Regions from separate parts of the Homo sapiens genome. Here regions 1, 2 and 4 are each linked to region 3. Evidence: promoter capture Hi-C in human tissues and cell types (Jung and others, 2019). All regions are on one chromosome and are shown on one strand. The core of a region is centred on a gene start or on the middle of the fragment in contact, and the rest is flanking DNA. Distances in the headings are between cores, read along the strand shown. Region 1 has its middle 67 kb from the start of LINC01685. Region 2 overlaps LOC105378657 (a long non-coding RNA gene). Region 3 holds the start of POU3F1 (POU class 3 homeobox 1). Region 4 overlaps LOC105378657 (a long non-coding RNA gene).

Evidence for each region. Contacts are between HindIII fragments. The study calls those that stand out against the background at their distance.
Region 1: a contact is called between a fragment that was not itself captured here and the fragment with the promoter of POU3F1 in region 3, in 1 of the 25 tissues and cell types used here (dorsolateral prefrontal cortex).
Region 2: a fragment that was not itself captured here is called in contact with the fragment with the promoter of POU3F1 in region 3 in 1 of the 25 tissues and cell types used here (lymphoblastoid cells).
Region 4: a contact is called between a fragment that was not itself captured here and the fragment with the promoter of POU3F1 in region 3, in 2 of the 25 tissues and cell types used here (dorsolateral prefrontal cortex and mesendoderm cells).

What each region holds. Positions count from the first base shown.
Region 1 is chr1:38,540,996-38,543,695 of GRCh38, reverse strand. No RefSeq gene overlaps it. Among named protein-coding and RNA genes, the nearest start is that of LINC01685, 67 kb to the right of the region's middle. The HindIII fragment of the contact is 3,741 bases long and covers 1-2,700 here.
Region 2 is chr1:38,399,426-38,402,125 of GRCh38, reverse strand. The region is part of intron 2 of LOC105378657 (a long non-coding RNA gene); the gene reads left to right. Among named protein-coding and RNA genes, the nearest start is that of LINC01685, 74 kb to the left of the region's middle. The HindIII fragment of the contact is 3,935 bases long and covers 1-2,700 here.
Region 3 is chr1:38,045,518-38,048,217 of GRCh38, reverse strand. It overlaps POU3F1 (POU class 3 homeobox 1), which reads left to right and starts at 1,425. Exons shown (of 1, transcript NM_002699.4): 1 at 1,425-2,700. The coding sequence starts at 1,475. It overlaps MIR3659HG (MIR3659 host gene), which reads right to left and starts at 1,084. Exons shown (of 5, transcript NR_168386.1): 1 at 604-1,084. RefSeq lists enhancers at 121-621, 622-1,122 and a silencer at 1,035-1,364. The HindIII fragment of the contact is 7,503 bases long and covers 1-2,700 here.
Region 4 is chr1:38,431,820-38,434,519 of GRCh38, reverse strand. All of the region lies in intron 2 of LOC105378657 (a long non-coding RNA gene), which reads left to right. All of the region lies in intron 2 of LOC107984943 (a long non-coding RNA gene), which reads left to right. Among named protein-coding and RNA genes, the nearest start is that of LINC01685, 42 kb to the left of the region's middle. The HindIII fragment of the contact is 5,970 bases long and covers 1-2,700 here.

The DNA of each region.
Region 1 (2,700 bases), core at 40-2,539, 500 kb before region 3:
ACACACACACACACACACACACACACACACACACACACACACACCCAGAATAATGTTTGACCAAAGGTCTAGGCATCCTGCAGGCCAGTCAAGTTGACACATAAAATTCACCATCACACTAGGTAATCAGTAAAATATCACCTAATTATGTATTAGTTTATTCTCATGCTCCTATAAAGAACTGCCAGATACTGGGTAATTTATAAAGGAAAGAGGTTTAATTGACTCACAGTTCTGCAGGGCTGGGAGGCCTTAGGAAACTTACAATCATGGTGGATGGGGAAGCAAATACGTCCTTCTTCACACGTTGGCAGGAAGGAAAGTGCTGAGAAAAAGGGGGAAAAGCCCTTATAAAACCATCAGATCTTGTGAGAACTCACTATCACAAGAAAAGCAGCACAGGGTAACAACTTCCATGACTGAATTACCTCCCACTGGGTCCCTCCTACAATATGTGGGGATTACGGAAACTACAATTCAAGATGAGATTTGAGTGGAGACACAGCCAAACCATATCAAATTAATTAACTAGCTAATTCATTAATGAGCAAAGCAATATTGCTGCAGGTTTGCTTGTCACCATAGGTGCAGTATCCTGTTGATGGTCCTGAAATTGTCCTTGGCCACCCTCATACCCATGCGTAAGTTGTCCTGATGAAGTGGGGAGAATATTTTCCTTCCACAGGCACATGGCACAAGTCCACGTGCAGGCAGCTGCACTTTGTGATGAGCCCTAAGAAGGCTGCCCCGAACTCCCATGTCTCACTGATATCCTCTCTGCAAACCACATTATAGCTTCTTTCTACTGCTCACATCTCTAGGACTCAGACCTGCATGGATGAGGGCTGGCTGGGTACACATCTGCAAGCCTGGTCCAGAAAACATGGTCCTCCATAACCCCCTCCACTCAGGGTGCACATGCCCTCACCCACCCCAACCCATCCCCTTGTTAATCCACCCTCCTCCAGGTTGCTACCAGGAGCCCCTTCAACTTTAGACTTGGGCTAAGCCCTGAGCTTTCCACAGATATGCATGGAACACAGGGAACCCCTGCCAGCAGGGCCTTCAGCAGCCAGTTTATTTTGCTCGATACTCACGGTCTGCATTTGCTTCAGTGCACCCCAGAGGTGTTTATTGGCTCATTGTCACACCTCATGTGGGCAGAGCTATGGCCCTCACTGAGTGCTTTGTTCTCATCACCTTTGGTGGTCACTGCCAAGAAATGAGCAGTCTCTGCTCATCTGTGCTGGACAAAGGCCAGGCTATTCCCAACGATTGGCTTGGTAACTCTCATTGGAAACAGGAGCATCAGGCACATGATGTTGCTCCCCAGACTCCAGAAATGGGAAGGGGATGTTCCTCTGAAGGGCACTTCTGGCTCGTGGCAGAATTCATAGAATCTCCATTCCAAATAATTGGAGATTCTTTAGTCCTTCTTGCACCTCAAGGCTTGAATCTACTTCACCATATCTTCACTGAGTGCTGAGTCTTGGAACCCCTGCTTACACGGATCTGTAGGAGTAGGGGTGCTTGCTACCATCTGCACACAACCTATTGCTAAACAGCTCTGGCAATAAAAGTAACAGTAACACTCTGATAATAATAATTATTACAAAGACCATTTATAAGGCACTTCCATATGTTCAGTTCTCAGCACCTTACCTGGCTTGTCTCAGTCAATGCTCCCAAGAACTCTCTGAGGCAGGTGTGCTATTATTCCTGTTCCTCAGACAAGGAAGCTGATGCTTCCAGAGGGGCTAAGGAACAGCTAAGTGGAGATCCAAATCTAAGTTGTCTAACTCCAAAGCTTGTGCTCCTAAGCGCCTTATTTGAGTTCTGCCTCTGAATTCCCATTCTCACTCTCACTCTCCCTTCCACTTCTTGACTCTAGGTTTGCGCTTTTAGGCCTCACGGTCCAAGTCTTCTCACTCTTTCCTGTGACAGCCCTTCAGAGTTTTGGAAACAGCAATCATGTCCCTCAACTGTGTGCTTTTCCATCCATAAGAGCCCCAGTTCAGATCCTTCTTTCTTCTTCCTTTGACACAGCTTCCAACCCTCTTCCACCAAACTTGCAGCCCGTCTCAGGGGCTGTAGCTGGTTGTGCCGTCCTTGAAGTATAGAGTCCCAAAATGAGCCTAGGCTCCAGTGACAGATGAGAGCAGGACCCTCACATCCCTGTTTAAGACACCAGGAAACATGTGTCAATATAGCCCAGGAGCATCTGAGAACCCCCACCTAGAATGCTGACTCATTCTCAGCTCCATGACCGTGAAAAATCTCTGCTGAGAATTTTCCCATTGGCTGTAGCTGCTAAGTCTCTCCTTCCCTGTCTTGTTCTTGAACAGTTTTTCTTTTTGAACCTGAGAGCTGGACCTGACAATCGTGTCTATTAAGAATCTTAAGCAATGACAGTCCCAGTATGGATTACACTCACAAATCAGAGCAAAGCTGTCCCAGACATCCTGTGTGGAAGTGATGGGGAGTTTTACCTTGGCCTTGGTTTGCAAAATCATCAGCTCTGTCAATCTCAAAAATCAGAAATGCAAAAGAAAAAGATGGACTTGGAAGTGGAAGAACTGGCATCTAGTCCCAGGTTTGAACCTGTTAAATTAGCTGGGTGACCTTTGGAAATATGCTTCACCTCGCATTAGCACATAGCATCATAAACAGCTTAAGTTTATCAATCTGGAGATGTACGGA
Region 2 (2,700 bases), core at 89-2,588, 350 kb before region 3:
TGTGTAGTATAAGCCCTGTTCATGTATACTCTAGTTTTTCCCTACTGGCCTTTGGGCATTGTTATCATACATTTCACTTCTACATATTTTATATATCTCATAATATGTTGCTATTATGCCTTAAACAGATGATTATTTTTGAAGATATTTAAATAATAAATGAAATTATTATTATTATCATTATCATTATTACAAATCTACTTATGTAATACCATGTCCTGTGCTGCTCAATACTTTGTGGAGATCAAGGGTCAGAAAACTTTTTCTGTTGGGGCCAGGTAATAAATACTCTAGACCATGTGGTTTCTGTTACAATTATTCAATCCTGTCATTGTAGCATGAAAGCATCCATGGGCAACAAATAAATGAATAGGTATGGCTGTGTTCCAATAAAACTTTATTCACAAAAAGAGGCAGCAGGTCAGATTTGGCTCATGGGCCATAATTTGCTGACCCCTAATATATCTAGGTTTCCATCTGATATTATCCTTTTTTTCCCCCTGCTTGAAGGACTTCCCTTTACATTTTCTATTCCACCAGTCTGCTTGTGATTAACTCTTTCAGCTTCTGTATGTCTAAAGAAGTATTTATTTTGCCTTAACTTTTAAAATAATTTTTTCTTAGTAGAGAGTTCCAGGTTGACATTTTCTTTTCTTACAGAATTTTAAAGATTTTGAGCCACTGTCTTCTAGTTTGCATTGTTTCTGACAAGAAATCTGCTATCCTCCTTATCTTCATTGCCCTGCATGTAGAGCATCTCCTCTACTTTTCCAATTTTATCTTTGTCACTGATTTAAAGCTACTTGATTCTGATATGCGTTTGTGTATTTTTTTTTTTAATTTCCTGGTTTTGGTGTTCACTGACCTTCTTGAATCTGTGAACTTATAATTTTTATCGAATTTGAAACATTTGGTCACTATTTCCTTAAATACTTTTCTGTCCTCCCTTTCTTTTGGGAACCCCACTTACACATAGATTTGGCCACTTGAAGTTGTCACTGTTGCTCTGTGTGTTTTTTTTTTTATGTGTGTCTTTTCCTCTGTGTACTTTATTTTGGGTAGTTTCTATTGCTATGTCTTCAAGTTTACTACTCCTTTCCTCTGAAATGTCTAATCTGCTATTTCCCATTCATTGTATTTTTTTTTTTTATCTCAGACATGGTTGTTTTCTTCTCTAGAAGTTTGGTTTCAGTTTTTCTAATATCTTCCATGTCTCTACTTAATGTTCAATATTTTCTCTAGCTTGGTGAACATATAGAATACAGTTATAATGACTGTTTTAATATGCTTGTCTCTTAATTCTATCATTTGTGTCATTTCTGAGTCAGTTTTGATTGATTTTTCTCCTCATTATAGGTTTTATTTTTCTAGTTCTTTGAATGCCTGATAATTTTTTTTATGGATGCCATATATTTTGAATTTTACCTTGTTGGGTGCTGAATATTTTTGTATTCCTAAAATTATTCTTGAGGTTTATTTGGAGATACACATTACTTTCAAATAGCTTAATACTTTTGGTTCTTGCTTTAAGCTCAATTATCAGGGACCAGCAGCATTTAGTCTAGGGTTAATTTTTCCCACTACTGAGGGAAGACCCTGCTCAGTACTCTAACTGATGTCCTATGACTTATGAAGTATTCTACTCTGGCTATTGGGAATAGACCCTTCCTATTCTTGTGAGCGTAGCACTGTTTCCTCTAATCTTTTGAGTTATTTTTTTAGACTAGTTGTTCATATGCATGTGCTGATGATTATTCTATTGAATACTCAAGGGAAGCTTCTGTAGATTTCTGAAGTTTTCCCTGTGTGCAGCTCTTCTTTTAAATACACTACATTGGGAACTCTAGATTCTTTGTTTTTCTCAACTTCCATTTGTGCCTCCTCAACTCAGGGATATTGCCAGCCTCTGCCATGGATCTGCCTTCCTTGTGATGGTCTGCAAACTTCCTTCAGGAGGTAAACCAGGTCAATAATAGGGCTATATTTGTTTCCTGTCATTTAGGGATTGCTGTCCTTCATTACCTGGTGCCTAATATTTTCACAGCTATTTTTTCATATATTTTGTTCAGCTTAAAAAGAAATTGTTTCAGATTGGAGGTTAAATTCAGCCCCTGCTACCCCATACTGGCTAGAAGTAGAAGTCCTATCAATTCATGTTTTAAATAATTAAGAAAAGAAGGAAAAATTTCTTTTGTATTTTCCTACAAAGTTATCATTTCTAGTGCCCTTTATTCCTTTCTGTAGAGCTGAATTTCCATATGGTCTCATTTCTCTTTAGCATAGAGAATTTCCTTTAGCATTTCTTCTTTTAGAAATATTTATTTTTTAATATTGACAAATTTAAATTATATATATTTATGGTATATAACATGATGTTTTGACATATGTTTACAATGTGGAATGGTTAAATCAAGCTAATTAACGTGTCTTACTTTCATACTTATCCATTTTTTGTGGTGAGAACACTTAAAATCTACTGCCTTCGCAATTTTCAGTTATACAATAACTGTCGTTAAATATAGTCACCATGATATACAATAGATCTTTTGAACTTATTTCTCCTATCTGTATCCTTTGACCAACATTTTCCAATTCCTCCCTCCTCCTGTGCCCAACTCCTGGTAACCACCATTTTCATCTCTGCTTTGATGAGTTTGTCTTTTTTAGATCCCACATATAAGTGAGATCATGTGGTATTTG
Region 3 (2,700 bases), core at 176-2,675:
GTGTGGGGAAGAGGAGAAAACACAGCTCAGTACCCTCAGCCTGGGGCCCAAGGTCGGGTAAGAAGGCACAAAGGAACTGCAGTGAGGTCCGACTCCACTCAAGATCCTTCAGGGAGTCCTCAAGGGCTGGGGCGTGAGGAGGTAGCTAAATTCCACTGCCCACCTTTCCAACAAGGCCTCCTCAATCTCAATTCCCTTTTCAGCAGCTCCAGGCAAGTCCGGGCAAACTCTAGCCCAGGGCTCTTAGCGAGGCTGGACAGCTCCCGGCCTGCACGCCGGATTTCTGGAGAGCCCGAGCCCCTTCCCTGAGCCCATCCTTCTCCTCTCCCGGGGCGTGATCCCACCACGACCACAGCCGATGAGCCGTTCAAGCTGGGAGAAGGAGCGAGAAGGCTGCAGCGGCGCAGGTCAGATACCCCTGGGCCCAACGTCCACCCCCAACTAGCGCCCTTGCCAGCAGCGTTTTCCCCGGAGCCACAGTCTCCACCTCGAGATCTTCTCCTTCTGGAACCCCGGAGCGCGGCCGGGTACCAGGGGCTCGCGTAGGACTGTAGAACCGCTGCCGCCCGCCGTCCCAGCCCCAGCTGCCCGCGCGGTACTCACCTGGGCCTCAGTGCCCGGGAGAAGGTGTGCCCGCGCGAGGCGTGAAGCCAGAGTCCGTCCGACTCCGCCCGCACCGGACGCGCTCTCAGGGCAGAGGAGGTCGGCGGAGTTGTGACGCTGGGACTAGAGGAAGGAGAAGGAAAGCCGAGACGGGCCGGGCAGACGCGCCGAGGAGCGCCCAGTGCACGCTGGCAGCCGCGGGAGGCGAGGCGGGCGCGGTGAGCAGTCGCGCCGGAACCGAGCCGCGAATCCGCGCCGCCTCGCGCTCGCAGCCGCCAGGACCCGCGGGAATCCTGGTCCGCCGGCAGCGGTACTGAGGAGGGAGGGGCGCGGGGCTGAGCCGCTTCTCGGAGCCCGAGCGCCTCCCGGAGCCGGCAATCCCTGCTGCCCGGGCGGGATGCGGGCGGGAATTCAGCTCGCGTGGAATGTGGGACCGGCCGGGCTCGGAGTCTCCAGCGCTGGGGGAAAGCGGGGCCCACACAGCCAGGACGAGAGGGGGTGCGGTCCCAGGGCCACCCCCGCGCCACTCCCCACGTGGCGGCCGCGCCCCCGGGGCGTGAGTGTGTACGCGGACGGTAGGGGGGCCGTGAATGAAGCCCCAGCGGCCAATCAGCACGGCCGGCGCGCGGGACCCCGGGAGCGACGCCCAATGGAGAGCTCTGGGCGGCCGGGCAGGGTGGCGGGCGGGCGCGCGGGGCGGGGGCCGGGCAGGGGAGGCGGGAGGCAGCTCCGCGGGCAGCCAATGGGCGGCGGGCGGGGTGGGGCTCCGGAGCGCCGAGCGGGTCGGGGCTTTAAGCCGGCGGAGCGAGGCGGCGGGGCCCGCAGACGGAGCGGAGCGGCGGCGGCGGCGCGGCGCAGGGCGCGGGGCGGCATGGCCACCACCGCGCAGTACCTGCCGCGGGGCCCCGGTGGCGGAGCCGGGGGCACCGGGCCGCTTATGCACCCGGACGCCGCGGCGGCGGCGGCGGCGGCGGCGGCCGCGGAGCGATTGCATGCAGGGGCCGCGTACCGCGAAGTGCAGAAGCTGATGCACCACGAGTGGCTGGGCGCGGGCGCGGGCCACCCCGTGGGCCTAGCGCACCCCCAGTGGCTACCCACGGGAGGAGGCGGCGGCGGCGATTGGGCCGGCGGCCCGCACCTAGAACACGGCAAGGCAGGCGGCGGCGGCACCGGCCGAGCCGACGACGGCGGCGGCGGCGGAGGTTTCCACGCGCGCCTGGTGCACCAGGGGGCGGCCCACGCGGGCGCGGCATGGGCGCAGGGCAGCACAGCGCACCACTTGGGCCCGGCCATGTCGCCCTCGCCCGGGGCCAGCGGGGGCCACCAGCCCCAGCCGCTCGGGCTGTACGCGCAGGCGGCCTACCCGGGGGGCGGCGGCGGCGGCCTGGCCGGGATGCTGGCGGCGGGCGGTGGCGGCGCGGGGCCGGGCCTGCACCACGCGCTGCACGAGGATGGCCACGAGGCGCAGCTGGAGCCGTCGCCGCCGCCGCATCTGGGCGCCCACGGACACGCACACGGACATGCACACGCGGGCGGCCTGCACGCGGCGGCGGCGCACCTGCACCCGGGCGCGGGCGGCGGCGGCTCATCGGTGGGCGAGCACTCGGACGAGGATGCGCCCAGCTCGGACGACCTGGAGCAGTTCGCCAAGCAGTTCAAGCAGCGGCGCATCAAGCTGGGCTTTACGCAGGCCGACGTGGGGCTGGCGCTGGGCACGCTCTACGGTAACGTGTTCTCGCAGACCACCATCTGCCGCTTCGAGGCCCTGCAGCTGAGCTTCAAGAACATGTGCAAGCTCAAGCCGCTGCTCAACAAGTGGCTGGAGGAGACCGACTCGTCCAGCGGCAGCCCCACCAACCTGGACAAGATCGCGGCGCAGGGCCGCAAGCGCAAGAAGCGCACGTCCATCGAGGTGGGGGTCAAAGGCGCGCTCGAGAGCCACTTTCTCAAGTGCCCCAAGCCCTCGGCGCACGAGATCACCGGCTTGGCAGACAGCCTGCAGCTGGAGAAGGAGGTGGTGCGCGTCTGGTTCTGCAACCGGCGGCAGAAGGAGAAGCGCATGACCCCTGCGGCCGGCGCGGGCCACCCGCCCATGGA
Region 4 (2,700 bases), core at 25-2,524, 390 kb before region 3:
TAACTGTAGGGTCCAATGAATGATTGTTTAGGAGAGGGGGAGGGAAACTGTAAACAATAAATCTTTTAGTCCACTCCCCTGATTTGTCTTAAGCCCTCCTTCCTAAAATCTTGCATTACAGAAGAAAGCATTTACTTTTCTTTGCCTTTCAGTTCAATTTTAATTTGACATTTTTTTTTTTTCACTGAGCTCCTTGCTGTAGGCAACTGTTGTAGGGGTCGGGGATCCGGAGAGGGGTGAGACACAGTTTCTGCCTCCATGGAATTCTCAGCATGTCAGGACAGTTGGAGGACAGAGGGAGAATTCTTGGGCTGGCCCAGAGTATGAGCAAGTAGGACTGCCCTGGCAGAAAAGGAAGAACCCAGACAGGTGAAGAGCCCTCATTAGGCAGTGCAGGGGCTGGGCAAATCCCAAGGAGGCTGGAACCCTAAGGGAAGGTTATCTGAGCCAGTAGGCGGGAGGGGGACAAAAGACAGTTCTGAGAATAAGAAGCAGGCAACCAGAAATGGGTCAAGTGAGGCTCAGAGGTGGAGATAAAGCAAAGCTCTAAAAGTAACCCACAACTGGTTAGATCAAAAAGCACTTGGCCGGGCGCGGTGGCTCACGCCTGTAATCCCAGCACTTTGGGAGTCCGAGGTGGGTGGATCACGAGGTCGGGAGTTCATGGCTAGCCTGACCAACATAGTGAAACCCCATCTCTAGTAAAAACACAAAAATTAGCCGGGCGTGTTGGTGGGCGCCTGTAGTCCCAGCTACTCGCGAGGCTGAGTCAGGAGAATCACTTGAACCCGGGAGGCAGAGGTTGCAGTGAACCAAGATCGCTCCATTGCACTCCAGCCTGGGCAAAAAGAGCACAACTCCGTCTCAAAAAAAAAAAAAAAAAAGCACTCAGCATCCAAGGAGCAAGAGGAAATGGGCAACTCCTGCTGCCTGTGGTCCCTGTAACCTCATGAAGTGTTTCCATTCCAGATAGTAAGGGCCCCAAGCATGACTTCTGTCCCAGTGGTGCAGGGAGACAGATAGTAACTAGCCAGGATGAAAGCGCTGTGTATGCAGGAAGCTCAGGGTACTGTCCGAGTTATTGAAGCAAGGGTCAGGTCAGGCCTCGTGGAAGTGATGACATTTGATGGAAGCCTGCAGGAAGGGTCAGGGCCCCGGACTTGGCACATCCCCTGGAGAAACCACCCTCCCCAGCACCGGATGCTTGAATGACTGGCAGTTCTGCTTTCACTCCTTCCCTGAAATCCCATCTTCACCAACTGTTCTGGGGCTGGAACATTGAGATTCTGAGAGGCAGCGGGTCTATTGGAATGCACAAGAGGCAGCCTGCCTGCCATCTCCTCTTCTTTTCTTGGGCTGTGTTCCCAGAGAAGGCGAGAACCTTCTTCTTCATGTCTCCTGGGTGGAACATTTAAATTCTCCCGGGAAACCCCACTAATTCAAAACCCACTGATTCAGAATTTGTGATCATTTGAATGGGGACTTGGATGAACTTTCTCCTTGAACTATATATGTGATGGAAGGAGTTTTCTAATCACATAAATAGAGGAAGATTTTAAGAGTAATGATGGATTTAAAAGCTACTTTTCAAAGGTTTTAGGAGAAATCGGAAGCATAGAAGAGATCTGGGCTCATTCAGCTCAATCACAGGTAGGTTTGGTTTCCAGCCTCTGCTTGCATGAGTTCTCCTGTAATGGGGAACTCACCAGCTCCTGAAACAGCAAATTTCATCTGTGGCAGATCAATTAGCATTTTTTTTTCCTTAACAAAGATCTCTCTGTGTGGTGCCTAATTATCGGTCATATTCCTGGCCTTGGATCTGCACAGAGACTTTGTGTCATAAGGCTGCCCATTAGAGACTTGAAGATGGATGCTCCAGGTCTTTTTTGTTTTGTTTTGTTTGTTTGTTTGTTTTTTGTTTCTTTTTGAGACGGAGTCTTGCTTTGTCGCCCAGGCTGGCATGCAGTGGCACGATCTCAGCTCACTGCAACCTCCACCTCCTGGGTTCAAGCGATTCTCCTGCCTCAGTCTCCCAAGTAGCTGGGATTACAAGAATGTGCCAACATGCCTGGCTAATTTTTGTATTTTTAGTAGAGATGGGATTTCACCATGTTGGCCAGGCTGGTCTCGAGCTCCTGACCTCAAGTGATCCACCTGCCTTGGCCACCCAAAGTGCTGGGATTATAGGCATGAGCCACCCTGCCTAGCCAAGGTCTTCTCTTTTCTGGTTATGCATGCAGGAATGGGTTTTGAGGCCTCATGTCCCAGGGAGAGATTATGGATTTTCTGGGCAATAAATTGTAGCAGGCTTGCCTCCTGGGGATGGAGTGCACTGCTCCTGCAAAGTCCTGGTCAGGGAAGGGTTGGGGGCCTGGGGGGTCTGAGTCAGGTGTGCCCTGAAAGCAGGCCCATGGTGGGAGGTTTTAACCAACTGAGGTGGGTAGGCGGGCACAGGCTGTGGAGCAGAGTGCCTTGCAGGTACTGCAGGGAACGGCAGCTGTATTTACTGAGCACTTTTCTTCCCTCCCACCCTCTATCTTCCCTAGATCCTCACTGTTTCCTTTCTTCATGTCCTTCTTTCCTTTTCCTTTTGTCTCTCTAATCAGTTTTTGGCTGATGTCCCCATCCCTCTCTCTCCCATCTCTGCCTTTCAGCCAGCTTCATTCTCCTTGTTTCCTATTCCTTCTATCTCACTCCCTT